2 separate regions of the Homo sapiens genome follow, and region 1 is linked to region 2. Evidence: promoter capture Hi-C in human tissues and cell types (Jung and others, 2019). All regions are on one chromosome and are shown on one strand. The core of a region is centred on a gene start or on the middle of the fragment in contact, and the rest is flanking DNA. Distances in the headings are between cores, read along the strand shown.

What was found. Contacts are between HindIII fragments. The study calls those that stand out against the background at their distance.
Region 1: a fragment that was not itself captured here is called in contact with the fragment with the promoter of PPP1R26 in region 2 in 1 of the 25 tissues and cell types used here (pancreas).

What each region holds. Positions count from the first base shown.
Region 1 is chr9:135,010,604-135,016,736 of GRCh38, reverse strand. No RefSeq gene overlaps it. Among named protein-coding and RNA genes, the nearest start is that of OLFM1, 74 kb to the left of the region's middle. The HindIII fragment of the contact is 6,445 bases long and covers 1-6,133 here.
Region 2 is chr9:135,478,220-135,484,671 of GRCh38, reverse strand. PPP1R26 (protein phosphatase 1 regulatory subunit 26) reads right to left here and starts at 4,890. Exons shown (of 4, transcript NM_014811.5): 1 at 4,650-4,890; 2 at 1,857-1,989; 3 at 590-722; 4 at 1-223. The coding sequence starts at 161. RefSeq lists silencers at 4,249-4,298, 4,309-4,368. The HindIII fragment of the contact is 17,940 bases long and covers 1-6,452 here.

The sequences.
Region 1 (6,133 bases), core at 1,830-4,329, 470 kb after region 2:
TGCCCCAGCTCTTCAATAGCGGCCACCCTTAGCTCTGCTATTCACTGTGTTTCAGGCTGTTATGAGTTGTTATTGATACGTTGTTGTTTTTATTGCCTGTGGGAAGAGGGGCCAGTTTCTGATGCCTAGGGAGTAGAAGGGTCTCCCTCTGTGGCTAATTAGCATGTCCCAAGTATTTTACGGGACATGTTTATAGTAAATAACAAAATTTTCATTTATCTGGAATTCAAGTCTTATTTTCAGGAGGATGATGACGCCAAGAAGAGGAAGCAGCTGTCACTGCATGCCCTGGCATGTGGGTGAATGTGTGGTGTGGGTGTCTCCCCAGCTAACCTTTTTATAAACAGCTCTATTGAGATATATTCACATACTGTACAATTACCCATTAGAGTGCACAGTTCAATGGTTTTGTAGCATATTTATGGATAAGTGCAGCCATCACTACAGGCAATTTGAGAACATTTTCATTCCCTCAAAAAGAAGCCCCACCCCTGTCGCCTGTCACTGCCCATCCCCGCTCCGCTCAGCCCTAAGCGACCCCTGCCTGGCTGCACGTCCCTGTGGGTTTCCACATCCGGACATTTCACTCGAATGGAATCCCATAAAATGGGGTCTTTGTGACTGGCTTCTTGCACCCACCACGCGTTCCAGGTCCACCCGTGTTGCACCAAGCGTCAGAACTCCGTTCCTTCCTATGGCTGAGCAGCGTTCCATTGTGTTAGACAGTATTTTTGTCATCCACTCATCAGAGTATGGTGACAAAGACTTCCTCCCTATCAGGGTCCTCTGACGTCGGTCTGCCACCCCACCCTTCACCTGCCATTCCCAGCTTTAGCAAAAGTCATGCTAAACCTATTTGCTGAGAATCCTGCACTCTTCATGCCTGACATGTTCTACATCCTCCAGCCTGGACATCTGGACCCTTGGTCTGCCTTTAGCAAGGATTCTGTTAGGCCCCCTCAGCACGAATCCCCTGCCCTCGCCGTCTAAGGGAGCTCCTCTTCATCAGTTTCCACCCACTGCCCCTCACTCTGCTGACCTGCTGAACATCCCCAGCTGCCTCTGTCTACTCAGAGTTGAGCTCAGTTCCACACTAAAGCCCTTTCCTCCTATTGGGGTAGCTGGAATAAAATCTGTCTTGCTGTTTTTAACAAGCGTCTGGTGCACATTTTGTAACTGACAGCGGGCCTCTGGCTGTTCCTGCCTTTGGGCTCTTACGAATGGAGCTGCTGTGAATCTCCAAGTGCGCGTTTTTGTGAGGCCTCTGCCTTTGTTTCTCTTGGGTGTGGATGCAGGAGTGGAACTGCTGGGTCAGCGGCTGAAATGCACGTTCAACAGGGTGTCCTGCATTTTTATCTGGCAATGCCTGGTCCAGCCCACGCATGTGTCCTGCGACAGGCTCGGGAGGACAACCTACGCCGTGCACCAGTGGGCTTCTCCCTTGGGACTGGCGCCTCCTCAGAAAGAAGCAGATGCCAGGAAAGGTGAGCGTTGCTCCTGTTGCTTGCTTGCAACCATGTGCACTTTCCTGTGACCACTGTGTCTGTCTTCCTCGGCTCTGGGATGAGACCCCCGCCTGAGTCCTGCTGCCCCAAATTCCCCAGTGGACTTCAATAAAACCTTACCAAGAAGAGAGGAATAAGGCCACCTTGGGCCTTCACACACACAACACTTCTCAGGAAGGTGAGTGGAAAACAGAAATCTCGTGTTACTCTGTAAAAGTAGAAGATACCTGCTTCCCGGGGGTCTAATGAAGATGCCCCCAGAGGCAGCGCCCCAGCCCTTCAACAGGGGCCACCCTTAGCTCTGCTGTTCACTGTGTTTCAGGCTGATTTTATTTGAGCTCCCGCAGTAGGAGGAAAAGATTTTAGTGTGGAACTGAGCTCAATTCTGAATAGACAGACAGCTGGGGATGTTCAGCAGGTAAGCAGAGTGAGGGACGGTGGGTGGAAAATGATTAAGAGGAGCTCCCGTAGACAGCAAGAGCAGGGGATTCGTGCTGAGCTGGCTTAATAGGATCCTTGGTAAAGGCAGACCAAGGGTCTACACGTCCAGGCTGGAGGATGTAGAACATGATCAGGCATGAACAGTGCAGACTCGGGACCCCTGTGACTCAGCTCGGGTGCCGGAATGAAATCCCACGGGCTGTGCAGCTTTAACCACACTCTCCAGACCCCTGTGACGCAGCTCGGGCGCCGGAATGAAATCCCACGGGCTGTGCAGCTTTAACCACACTCTCCGGACCCCTGTGACGCAGCTCGGGCGCCGGAATGAAATCCAAGGGCTGTGCAGCTTTAACCACACACTCGATTGATTTCCTCACAGTCCCAGAGGCTGGAAGTTTGAGGTGCAGGTGGAGGCAGGGCTGGTTCCTCCTGAGGCCTTTCTCCTGGGCTTGCAGATGGCGTCTTCTCCCTGCGTCCTCATGTGGTCATCCCTCTGTGGGCTTCTGTGTCCTAATCTCCTCTTCTTTTAAGGACACCAGTCACAATGGATTAGAGCTCATCCTGAAGACCTCATTTTACCTTAGTGACCTCTGAAAAGACGCTATCTCTGATACTCTCACATTGTGAGGTCCTGGGGGCCTAGGACTTCAACATACAAATTTGGGGGAACACAGACACCCAGCCCATAACATGAACCAAACCCCAAAGTGGCACTGGGGCTTTTCTCCGGGGACCGCCATCATTTTGGAGAAGGAAGAGGATTCTGGAAAAGATCCACCCAGGCCCAGAAAGGGGAAGGGAAGGAGGGAGACAGAGCGGGGGAGGCGGGAAAGGGGCCAGGAGCATGGTGCGGGGTCCCTCACAGCCTGGCCTCAGGGCTCCTGGAGGGAAAGAAGTGGGGACGTCCCCTGCTCCCCAAGAGGAAGTCTGACTTTGGGCCCCCGGTGAGGACTGGATTCCTAAATCCAGATGTCCTGTTCCTTTCTCTCTAAGGGCCAGAGGGAAACAGGACATTCAGCTCCTGGCCCACCCGTCTTTGTCATTTTAATTAAAATCAGGGCTCGTGGTGGTTTAGACAGTTGCCCTCATTAGCACTAAATCAAGCACCCATTTTTAAGATATAGGCCCCTTGAAAGTGAAGAATGGCAGGGCTGAGAAATAAATATTTGAAAAGGGCAGCGAAGCCACAGACCTGCCTCCCTTGGCTTCCTGCCGACTGGTTTCAGCTCCATTTCTCTCCCCTCGTCTCTGACAAATGGCCCCTGCACGGAGTCCACCTGTGAGGCTGGGCCCCTGGCTGAGGCCTCACGAGAGGGAGGCTGAGGACCCCAGGGCAGATGGCCAGTTCTGCTGCCCCTTCCTCTCAGGCCTGGGGAGAGTCTGTGTCCCACAGAGAGGAGACGGAGATAGGGCAGGGGTTGGAGGAGCTTCCTAGGAGCCTCTGGGGTGGTGGCCTCTGCAGATACCAGCACCCTCCTGAACAGGTAAGAACAGGCAAACAGCACGTCTCAGTGACATCTCTGGGCCCAGTGACAGGCTCCTTCCCCATTGAGTCCGAGTCCATAGGAAACACTAACATTCCCTTTTGGAAAAAGATAAGTAACTCCATGGTGGAGACACGTGACGTGCACATCCTCTGCCAGTGACCAAGGCCAGTGTCAGCAGTGAGAGTCAAGTGGACGGCACATGATCCTGCTGATGTGCGTGGGTGGAGGGGCATTGCCTTCCTGCTCCTCCTCCCAAACCCATCACCCAGTCTACCTGTGAGAAACACAGCAGACAGAGCCCCACCAAGGGGCAGGTGACCTGAGGTCAGGAGTCTGAGACTAGCCTGCCCAATATGGTAAAACCCACCCTGTCTCTACTAAAAATACAAAATTAGCCGGGCATGGTGGCAGGTGCTTATAATCCCAGCTACTCGGGAGGCTGAGGCAGGAGAATCGCTTGAACCCAGGAGGTGGAGGTTGTAGTGAGCAGAGATTGCACCACTGCACTCCAGCCTGGGCAACAGAGTAAGACTCTGTGTCAAAAAAAAAAAATAAATAAATAAATAAAAAAAACACCTAAACAGCATCCCTCAAAACTGTCAAGGTCATCACAGATGGGGAAAGGCTGAGAAACCACCACAGCCAGGAGGAAACCGAGACGACACAATGTCCTGTGGTGTCCTGGACAGAAAAGGGACCTCAGAAGAAAGATTAGTGAAATTCAAATCAGGTCTGAAGTTTAATTAATGATAGCATTGCAGCAATGTTGCTTTTCTGGTTGTGACCAACGTACCTGGTCATACAAGATGCTGACGATAGGAGATGCTGGTGACAGGTCTACAGGGACTTTGCAGACACCAGTCCCCTCCCTGGGCCCCACACACAGGATCTGAGAAGAGCAAGGCTACTGGAGATGCCCTGCATGGGCCTGGGCCCTCCGGCTGCTCCCAGCCCACCTCTCTCTGTGTGCCTCTCCTATCTCTCTGCTCCCCGCTCCCCAGACCCTCTGGCCCTCCCACCGCTTCAGGAGCTGGGTTCCTACTCAGCTGTCAGCCTTTGGGTCTGGGAGTCAAAGGGCATTGCTCTAGCAGCATGAAATTCTGATTCTTAGATTATCTTTGAATCTGAAACTTAATTTACTGACAGGTAGACCATTTACTCCAATGAGTCAGAAGCCCATTGCTGGCCAGTGCTGATTTTGAGATGCAGATGAAGCTTAGGTTCTGGTGGAGGCTTGGGTGGAAAGTGTCCTGAACCTTCCTTGGGTGGAAGAAGTGAGATCATTGACTCAAAATCCAAGATGCTTGGCAAGCCATGACAGAGCTGTCACCAAACGTTTCACATGCACTATTTAATTACTGACAAGGATCAGATGAGATAGGTATTGTTTCCTATCTCAAATGGTCCTGATGATGTGCATGGGTGGAGGGGCATTGCCTTCCCCTCATCCCCAGATTCCCATTTCAGACAAAGAAACGGAGGCTACTGTCTTTCTCAAGTTCACAGAGCTAGGAACAGCAGGGTCAGGATTTGAACCCAGGTCCCCATGGCTCCAAGGGCATAAACTTCACCATTACCACCAGATCTCCTAAACTGACTTCCTACCTTGTCAACTAGTTATGGGTGGGGCAAATAGCACCACTTATCCATCTGTGGCTTGTGCAGACAGTTTGGTCTTGGGGACTGCTAGGACCCCCTGATCTCTGGGCTCTTTGGGTAGGTGGAGAGGGGCTCACTGGGCCACTATTGCTTAGCTGCATTGTTCTGATTGGGCTCAGATGTGAGCTGTCGGTTGAGTTCCTAATTGCTCTTCAGCCGATCCGGTTGGCTGTTGAGGCTTACAGGAAGGCTTGGCTTTCTGGATTTGCTCTTCCAGCTTTCACTCCAGTGGTCACATCTGCGTTTAGCCTACAGTGCTCTGGGCCACTGGAGCTCCAGGCCTGGCCTCATGGGGGTCTTTTTTGTTGAGCCACCTTCCAGGGCTGCATTGGGGACCGTCCTTTGAGAGCTGGAGGGATGGCGTCATGAAGTCCCCTTGTGCACAAAACAAGGTGTGAAACAAGGCAGGCAGGGGATCCCTGGGAGCAAGTGTCAGAAGCACCCGGGGGATCCTGAGCAGATGCCAGCCCCACCCTCAGATTCTGCCTCCATGGGTCGGGGGCCAAGGGTTTGCACCTCTAACAAGCCAGGGCTACCACTGGGCTTGGGCCTCCCCTCGAGAACCGCCCTGAGCCTGAGGCTTGAGTGGTTTCGCTTGAGTGGTTTCACTTGAGAGGCTTCACTGCCCTCTTTACCAGTAAGTAGCTCAGTGCAGCCAGGACCTACCCAGTCCCCTGCTACGGAACCAGGAGCATGGAGGAGGTGGCTGGCTTGTCTGTTACTAACCCATGTCTCTTCTCACTCAACTAGCATTCGTGGACAGGGCAGGTGGAGGGAATTCATTTAAACAAAATTAAGTGATCACAGTTTCTCTTCGAGATGACACTGGCCCATGGAGGGAAGCTTGTCAGAGGTGGGGGCAGTGCCAGAGACAGGTGGGTGCTCCTGAGTGAGCCAGACCCTCAGGCCCCTAGCCTTCTGGACCCACCCTCACCCCACTACACCCTGCTTTGGTACAAGTTGTGCCCGAGGGTGAAGTGGTCCTAAGTCGCCCTGTCACTTCTCAAGGAGTGTGCCCCTTCCACATTCTCTCCAAGTGAG
Region 2 (6,452 bases), core at 3,641-6,140:
AGAGTGCTGATAAGCATCTGCACCCGGGCGCTCACCGACGCGCTCTCCACGCCCTCGTCAGCCTCCGAGAAGCACCTGGGGAACCTACAGCTCCCTGGCGGGCCAAAGGCCTCCCATTTGGACTGGAGAGCAACCACTGGAGAAGCGTTCATGAGAAACATTCTAGCAGACGGGGAGGGGCGCGCAGAGGGGCGATGCTTTATTTCTCTACCGGCTTCACATCCTGGGCGGAAAGAAAGCACATGGGCATGATGCAGCTACAAACAGCGATAGCTGCCAACACCAAGCGAGGCCCCAGAGGAACAGCATGTCGGGCTCACAGAGTGGAGAGAGTTGGGTGGAGCCCAACGTCCAGCTAGCTGGGTGTCCTTGCACGACTTACTCATGCTCCTGGGGCCTCGGATTCCTCAGCTGGGAAAGGAACAATTTACCTGCTCCAGCCCGGGGCTGCTGGGAAGATTCAGTAAGAAAATGTTTCCAACCACCCTCCACGGTGCCGCCCGGGGCACGCACGGTCATCACCTCCCCGCTCTTCCCTTCTCACTCCGGGCTTCCACCTTCTCTGTAAGAGGGGAGAGGTTTTATTTACCTCCAAAGTTGGCAAGCGGTACCCATGAGACAACGTCTGCAAATGCTTCTTTGCAGCTTAAAAAGGATGACTAGAAACCCAGGATCAGCACGCCGTCATGCGTAGGTTCATTCTTGACCCAACCGACAAGCTCCTGGAACGGAAAGTTGTATGATGTGAGCCACTCAGAAATTATTTCCCCAAACATCTTGAAGGGCTGCTTTTACTAAACCCTCTCTATGTTAAATGTCAAATGTAAATTTGCCAGGTGGTCGCATGGGACTGCATTGTTATTCTTAGCTAACTAGCACAGAAGTCACCCTGAACACAGTGATGTCCCCCTTCTCATCCTGCGCTGCCAGATTTCAGACCAAAGGTGGCTGCCTCAGCACAAGTGCTGGGCTGAGCTTGGGACACTTTGAAGACCTGCTCACGAATGGCCTGGGGATTGCCACTGCAGGGAGGAAGCTCAGGTGGATGGCAGTCACTTAGAACAATACCAGGGATACTGCGCAGCTATTCATTCTTAACACATTGCTCTGATACCCACCTGCCTACCCCAAAATTGCAGTGCAAAGCGGTTCTTGTGCAAGCAAGCCTCCAAGGCTTATGGACACTGAACTCCCCTTGGCTCAGAGGCTGTGGCTGCCCTCAGGACCTCAGCAGTGGGCGAAAACTGGCCAGTATGTTTTGCCTCTGTTATGGATTCTTCTTTACCAGGAGCTTTCTCCGGTTAACCAGGCGCTTCCTTCCTGACAAGCACATAATTGGGTATTTACATGCCACCATCTTTTCACAAAAACGTGAGGCTGTGGCCAGGTGTGGTGGCTCACGCCTGTAATCCAGCACTTTGGAAGGCCGAGGCGGGTGGATCACCTGAGGTCAGGAGCTCAAGATCAGCCTGACCAATATAGTGAAACTCCATCTCTACTAAAAAAACACAAAAATTAGCCGGGCATGGTGGCGCATGCCTGTAATCCCAGCTACTTGGGAGGCTGAGGCAGGAGAATTGCTCGAACCCAGGAGGTAGAGTTTGCAGTGAGCTGAGATCATGCCACTGCACTCCAGTCTGGGCGACAGAATGAGACTCCATCTCAAAAAAAAAAAAAAAAAAAAGAAAGAAAGAAAAAGAAACAAAAGGTGAGCCTGGCCACCTACACACAGGTGAGCCCAAAAGGGGTAACCAGCAATTAACCAGGGGGTGAGACAGATTCAGAAGTAAGTCATTTGCTAGCACCAATTTGTGCCCTACAAGGGAAACTAAAATACAAGAATTACTTGAAATTACTTGAAATTCTGTGAGTCCAGGTTGACTGTGATGAAATGGCAGCCAGTGTTCCCACACGGCCCAGAGATCAGGTCCTCATCACTCCACTTACACACCGAGGCATTCTCTCTCTGCTTTTTCAATAGACTTTTGACTACCAGAATCAAAGAGAATCAGAGGCATCTAATTACAGGCTGAAGCTACAGTTGATAAATTTTTTTTTTTTGGAAAGAAATATCATTAACTTAAGGGCTCAAAATTAACTTTTGAAGGAACTTACTCTAAGACATTTAACCACAAGTACAAATATATTTAACTTAATGTATTAAGACAAATACATTTAACCACAAGTAATGTATAGCTATCCTGGACAGCAGATCTGATGCTGGCTGAAGTGATGGGGATGGGGCACGTATGTGACGTTATCTGCTAGTTCTCAAATTCTGGCCACCCACTGCAGCCCATGACATCCCCCATAAAGTCACCTTCTGGAGAGATTCCCCACTGACACAGAGCACTGGGGGACCAACAATGCGAGAGGAGCTCTTTCACTGGCTAGCAAACCCACGCCTGCCTTACTGTAGGTGTTATTCAAATTGCCTCTGCAAAATGACATAAATGACAAAACATTTGCATTAGCCTTGGGCTGAGGAGCGTCTAAATTAAGACTATTGACTCCTTAAACAGCAATACTACCTTAAGAATACTACCTTAAATACTACCTTAAGAAAACCGGCCCAAGTCAGTGTCTTTACACTAGATGACAAGGTCGGGGAGGGGAGTTTTCCTGGGGAAATAGTCTGTTCTCCACTAGCCACATTTACAGCTTCTGACTGGTTGCAGAGAAGGCCTGGACACCCAGTGAACAGTTTTCTAAGTTGTCAAATCACCTAGTTCAAGAATGGTATTAAAAAATCTGGCCAGGTGCAGTGGCTGACGCCTGTAATCCCAGCACTTTGGGAGGCTGAGGCAGGTGGATCACCTGAGGTCAGGAGTTTGAGACCAGCCTGGCCAATATGGTGAAACCCCTCCTCTGCTAAAAATACAAAAATTAGCTGGGCGTGGTGGCGTGTGCCCGTAATCCCAGCTACTGGGGAGGCTGAGACAGGAGAATTGCTTGAACCCAGGAGGCAGAGGTTGCAGTGAGCCGAGATCGCGCCACTGCACTCCAGCCTAGGAGACAGAACGAGACTCCATCTCAGAAAGAAAAAAAAAAATCGAGGGGGGTCGTCTCCCCAGGACAGCTTGTGGCTTTAAAACATTATGCGAGATGAATCATTCTTGAAAAGCCCCCTGGGTCGGGGATAGTGGCTCACACCTGTAATCCCAGCACTCTGGGAGGTGGAGGCAGGTGGATCACTTGAGGCCAGGAGTTCGAGACCAGCCTGGCCAACATGGCGAAACCCCATCTCTACTAAAAACACATAAATTAGCTGGGCGTGGGAGCCCACGTCTGTAGTTCCAGCTACTCCAGGGGCTGAGGCACGAGAATCGCTTGAACCAGGGAGGCGGAGATTACAGTGAGCCGAGATCAGCCATTGCACTCCAGCCTGGGCGACAAAGCGAGACTCTGGCTCTAAAAAAAAAAAAAAAAAAAAAACAAGAAAAGCCCCCTAATCAGTCCTTAGAGATAGGTGTGGGCCCAAGCCAGAGGTGCAGGCTTTGTCAAATTGCTGCCTCAGGATACGGTCTTGAGGGTGGCTGTGGGGACACCCAGCACCTGCACCCCAAGGCCACACGGTGTCAGATTTTAGGAAGCGGTGGAGAACACTCGGGTACCTTCTCGGTCCAGACATCAACCTTCTGGAGAGAACCAAAGCACCCACACTGGGCCCTCGCCATCCTAACAGTCTGCCCACCTGTGAGAAACGCCCCCAAATACTCTACATTTCTCGGTTGGCCGAAAAGCAGCTCAGCCAGCGGTCTTACCTCCCAGGTGGGGTTTCCCCCCAGGGTAGGGAGGCCAGGGTCTGCAGGCCAGGGAGAGGAGCCCCGGTGCAGGAGCGGGCGGGGCAGCAGGAGGACCCGCTCCAGCCACCCAGAAGTGGGCGTGGGCTAGAATTCAGCTCCCAGCCTTCCAGAAGCTGCAATTTTACAACCTCACTACAAGCGTCCCCCAGCAAAGCTGCACCGCCATTTCCTGTGCTTGGGAACTGAAGGCAAGGTGAGCCCCTCCCGGCTGCCCCGGCCCGACCTCCCCTGACTCCCAAGCTTGGGCTACTCACGGCCTGCGGGCTGGGCAGGGTCCCCCAAGGGAGCTCCCCTCCCCGAGGGCGCGCTCACCCTAGCCGCTGGGATCGGCGACCTGGTCCTCGGCCCGGCGGGAGTGAACGCCTCCCAGGGAAGAGGCCGGGCCTCCAAGCAGGTCTGCACCCCCGGAGTTATGTTTCTGGGATCCGAGGACTAGCGAGCTTGGGGCCCGGGAGAGCGGCCACCCTCCCGGAAGCTCCGCCTGGCGCAGGGCGTGAACCGCAGTCTCCAGGCCGGCCGGGCCGCGGCCATTCTCGGAGGGCAGCGGCCGCCCCGGGCCGGGCCAAAGCTCCCCACCGCGGGCCCTCACCTGCGCCTCACCTGGGGCTCCAGGAGCGCGGGGCGCGCGGGCCGAGAGTCGCACGGAGGCCAGAGACAGGATCCCCGCCCGGGGAACGGAGCAGCCCCGGCGCCGATCCCCGTCCGCCTGCCTCGGGGAGCCCCCGCCGCCCGCCCGCCGCGGCCTGCACGGCGCGCCGGCCCCGGCCTGGCTGGCCCTCCTGTCCCCGACCCCCCAGCTTCCCAGCCCCCGAGCCCCCCGGCCCCGGCCCTGCACCCGCTCACCTCCGCCCGTCCCCCGCCGCCCGCCGCGCGGACCCCGCCTGCGCCCGCGTCCCACGTCCCGGGGGAGGCGGCGGGCCGGGGGCGGGCCGGAGGCTGCAGGGCCAGCGCGCTCCGCCCTCGGCCGGGGCGCGGGGAGGGGGCGCAGGGGCGTCCGGCCGGGCCCCCCGCCTCCCCGCCTCCCCGCGCGCCGCCGCTGCCGCCGCCCCGCGCCCGGGCCGCGCCGTGGGAAGCGCGGGAGGGGAGGGGCGGGGCGGGGGGCGGGGCGACCCCCCCAAGCCGCCCCCTCCCCGCGACCTACCGGACGGTGGCGGCGGCGGCCGCACTCCGGAAGCCGTGCCCGTGGCTGGGCATCATGGGAATGGCACGGCCGAGTTCCGGGGGAGGCGCGCGGCCCGGCCGGACCCCCGCCCGCGAGAGCGCGCCCACCTGCCGCCGCGCCCGCGCCCCGGGGACGCCCCCGCCCCGCCCCGCCCGGTTCGGACGCGGCCCCCTCCGCGGGGTGCGGGGCGAAGGCGCTTGGGCCGGGCCGAGCCCCGTGCTGCCCGCCTCCCGTACCGCGGCCACCTCCGGGGGGCGCGCAGGGGGCGCGGGGTCGCCGGGAAGTTCTGGGCGCGGGGGGCGTGGCCGTGGGAAAGCGCTCGGAGCCGCGGGAAGGGAGCGTGCGGGGCCCCGGCGCCAACCGAGTTCCTCCCCGAAGTTCACGCGGGGCTCCGGGCTGAGACCGGCCCGCCCGCCCCTCCAGCCCCACAGCCTTGGGCCGGGGTCGGGGGCGGCCCCCGCGTGTCCCCGCGGCTGCCCCACCCGAGCTTGCGGCGGGGAGTGGACGCACGACCTGCCCGGGGCGGCGGCTCCTCGAGCACACCTGCCGCCAGGTTCGGGGGAGGGAACAGTTTCTAGGAACTGCCCCGGACCTTGAGGCCGCTGCTGTTTCTGCTTCTGCTGTGCACTGACCATGTGACCTTGAAAGTCTTCCCAGTTTTGTTTTATAAAAGGTCCAGGGTGTGTGCCCGAGGCTGGCGGTGGCCCGGGTGTGCTCAGCATCCCCGGGCGGCGGGGAACGGGCAGACCCGACTGGATCCTCCCTCAGCGCCCACTCGTGGAAGGGGCAGATGGTGCGCAGGGGCACCGCGCTGCTTCTGTAAGCCCCCTGGGCCCTGATCCACACGTGTCTGGGAGATGAATTTGTGGGTTCGGTTCCTGTCTAGAAAGTGTCAGAGATTTGATAGGATCAAAATCAGAGACTTGCCTTGGAGGGGTGCTTCTAGTCATGCCAGCCTGGGAAGCTGGAGGGCCAGTTTTGGGTCAGGAAACCCATTAAAGAATTGTTTTAATGCCTTCGTGAATTTTTTCAAAAAGCAATTTTTTTTTTCTCATGAAATAATACTCTTTCATTACCAAACTTTGGGGAGATGATCTAATTAATAAGGTGACTTCCCAGAGACATGGGCTGTTAAGGTTTTGGCATGCTGCTTCACAGTTTTTAAAACAGTGCTGTGGTGAACAGCTTTCATGATGCCTCCTTAGAGCGGCTCTGAGCATTTCCTGCGGGCAAATCCCTAGAAGAGGCCGGCGGGCCAAAGACTATGCTGCATTTTGCCAAAATGCCCTCCAGAAATGCGGGGCCAGCCTGCCGTCCACCCACTGGTGAGCGGGCATGCCCGCTTGCCTGTCCTCTTGCCAGCCCTGAGATATGTCATTGCGTTATGTCTTTGGCAGTCTGATAGGCGAAACAGCCCTTTTCATCACTTGAATCCTAATTTCTTTGACTGCTGGTGATGTTGAACATCTTTTCATTTTATTATT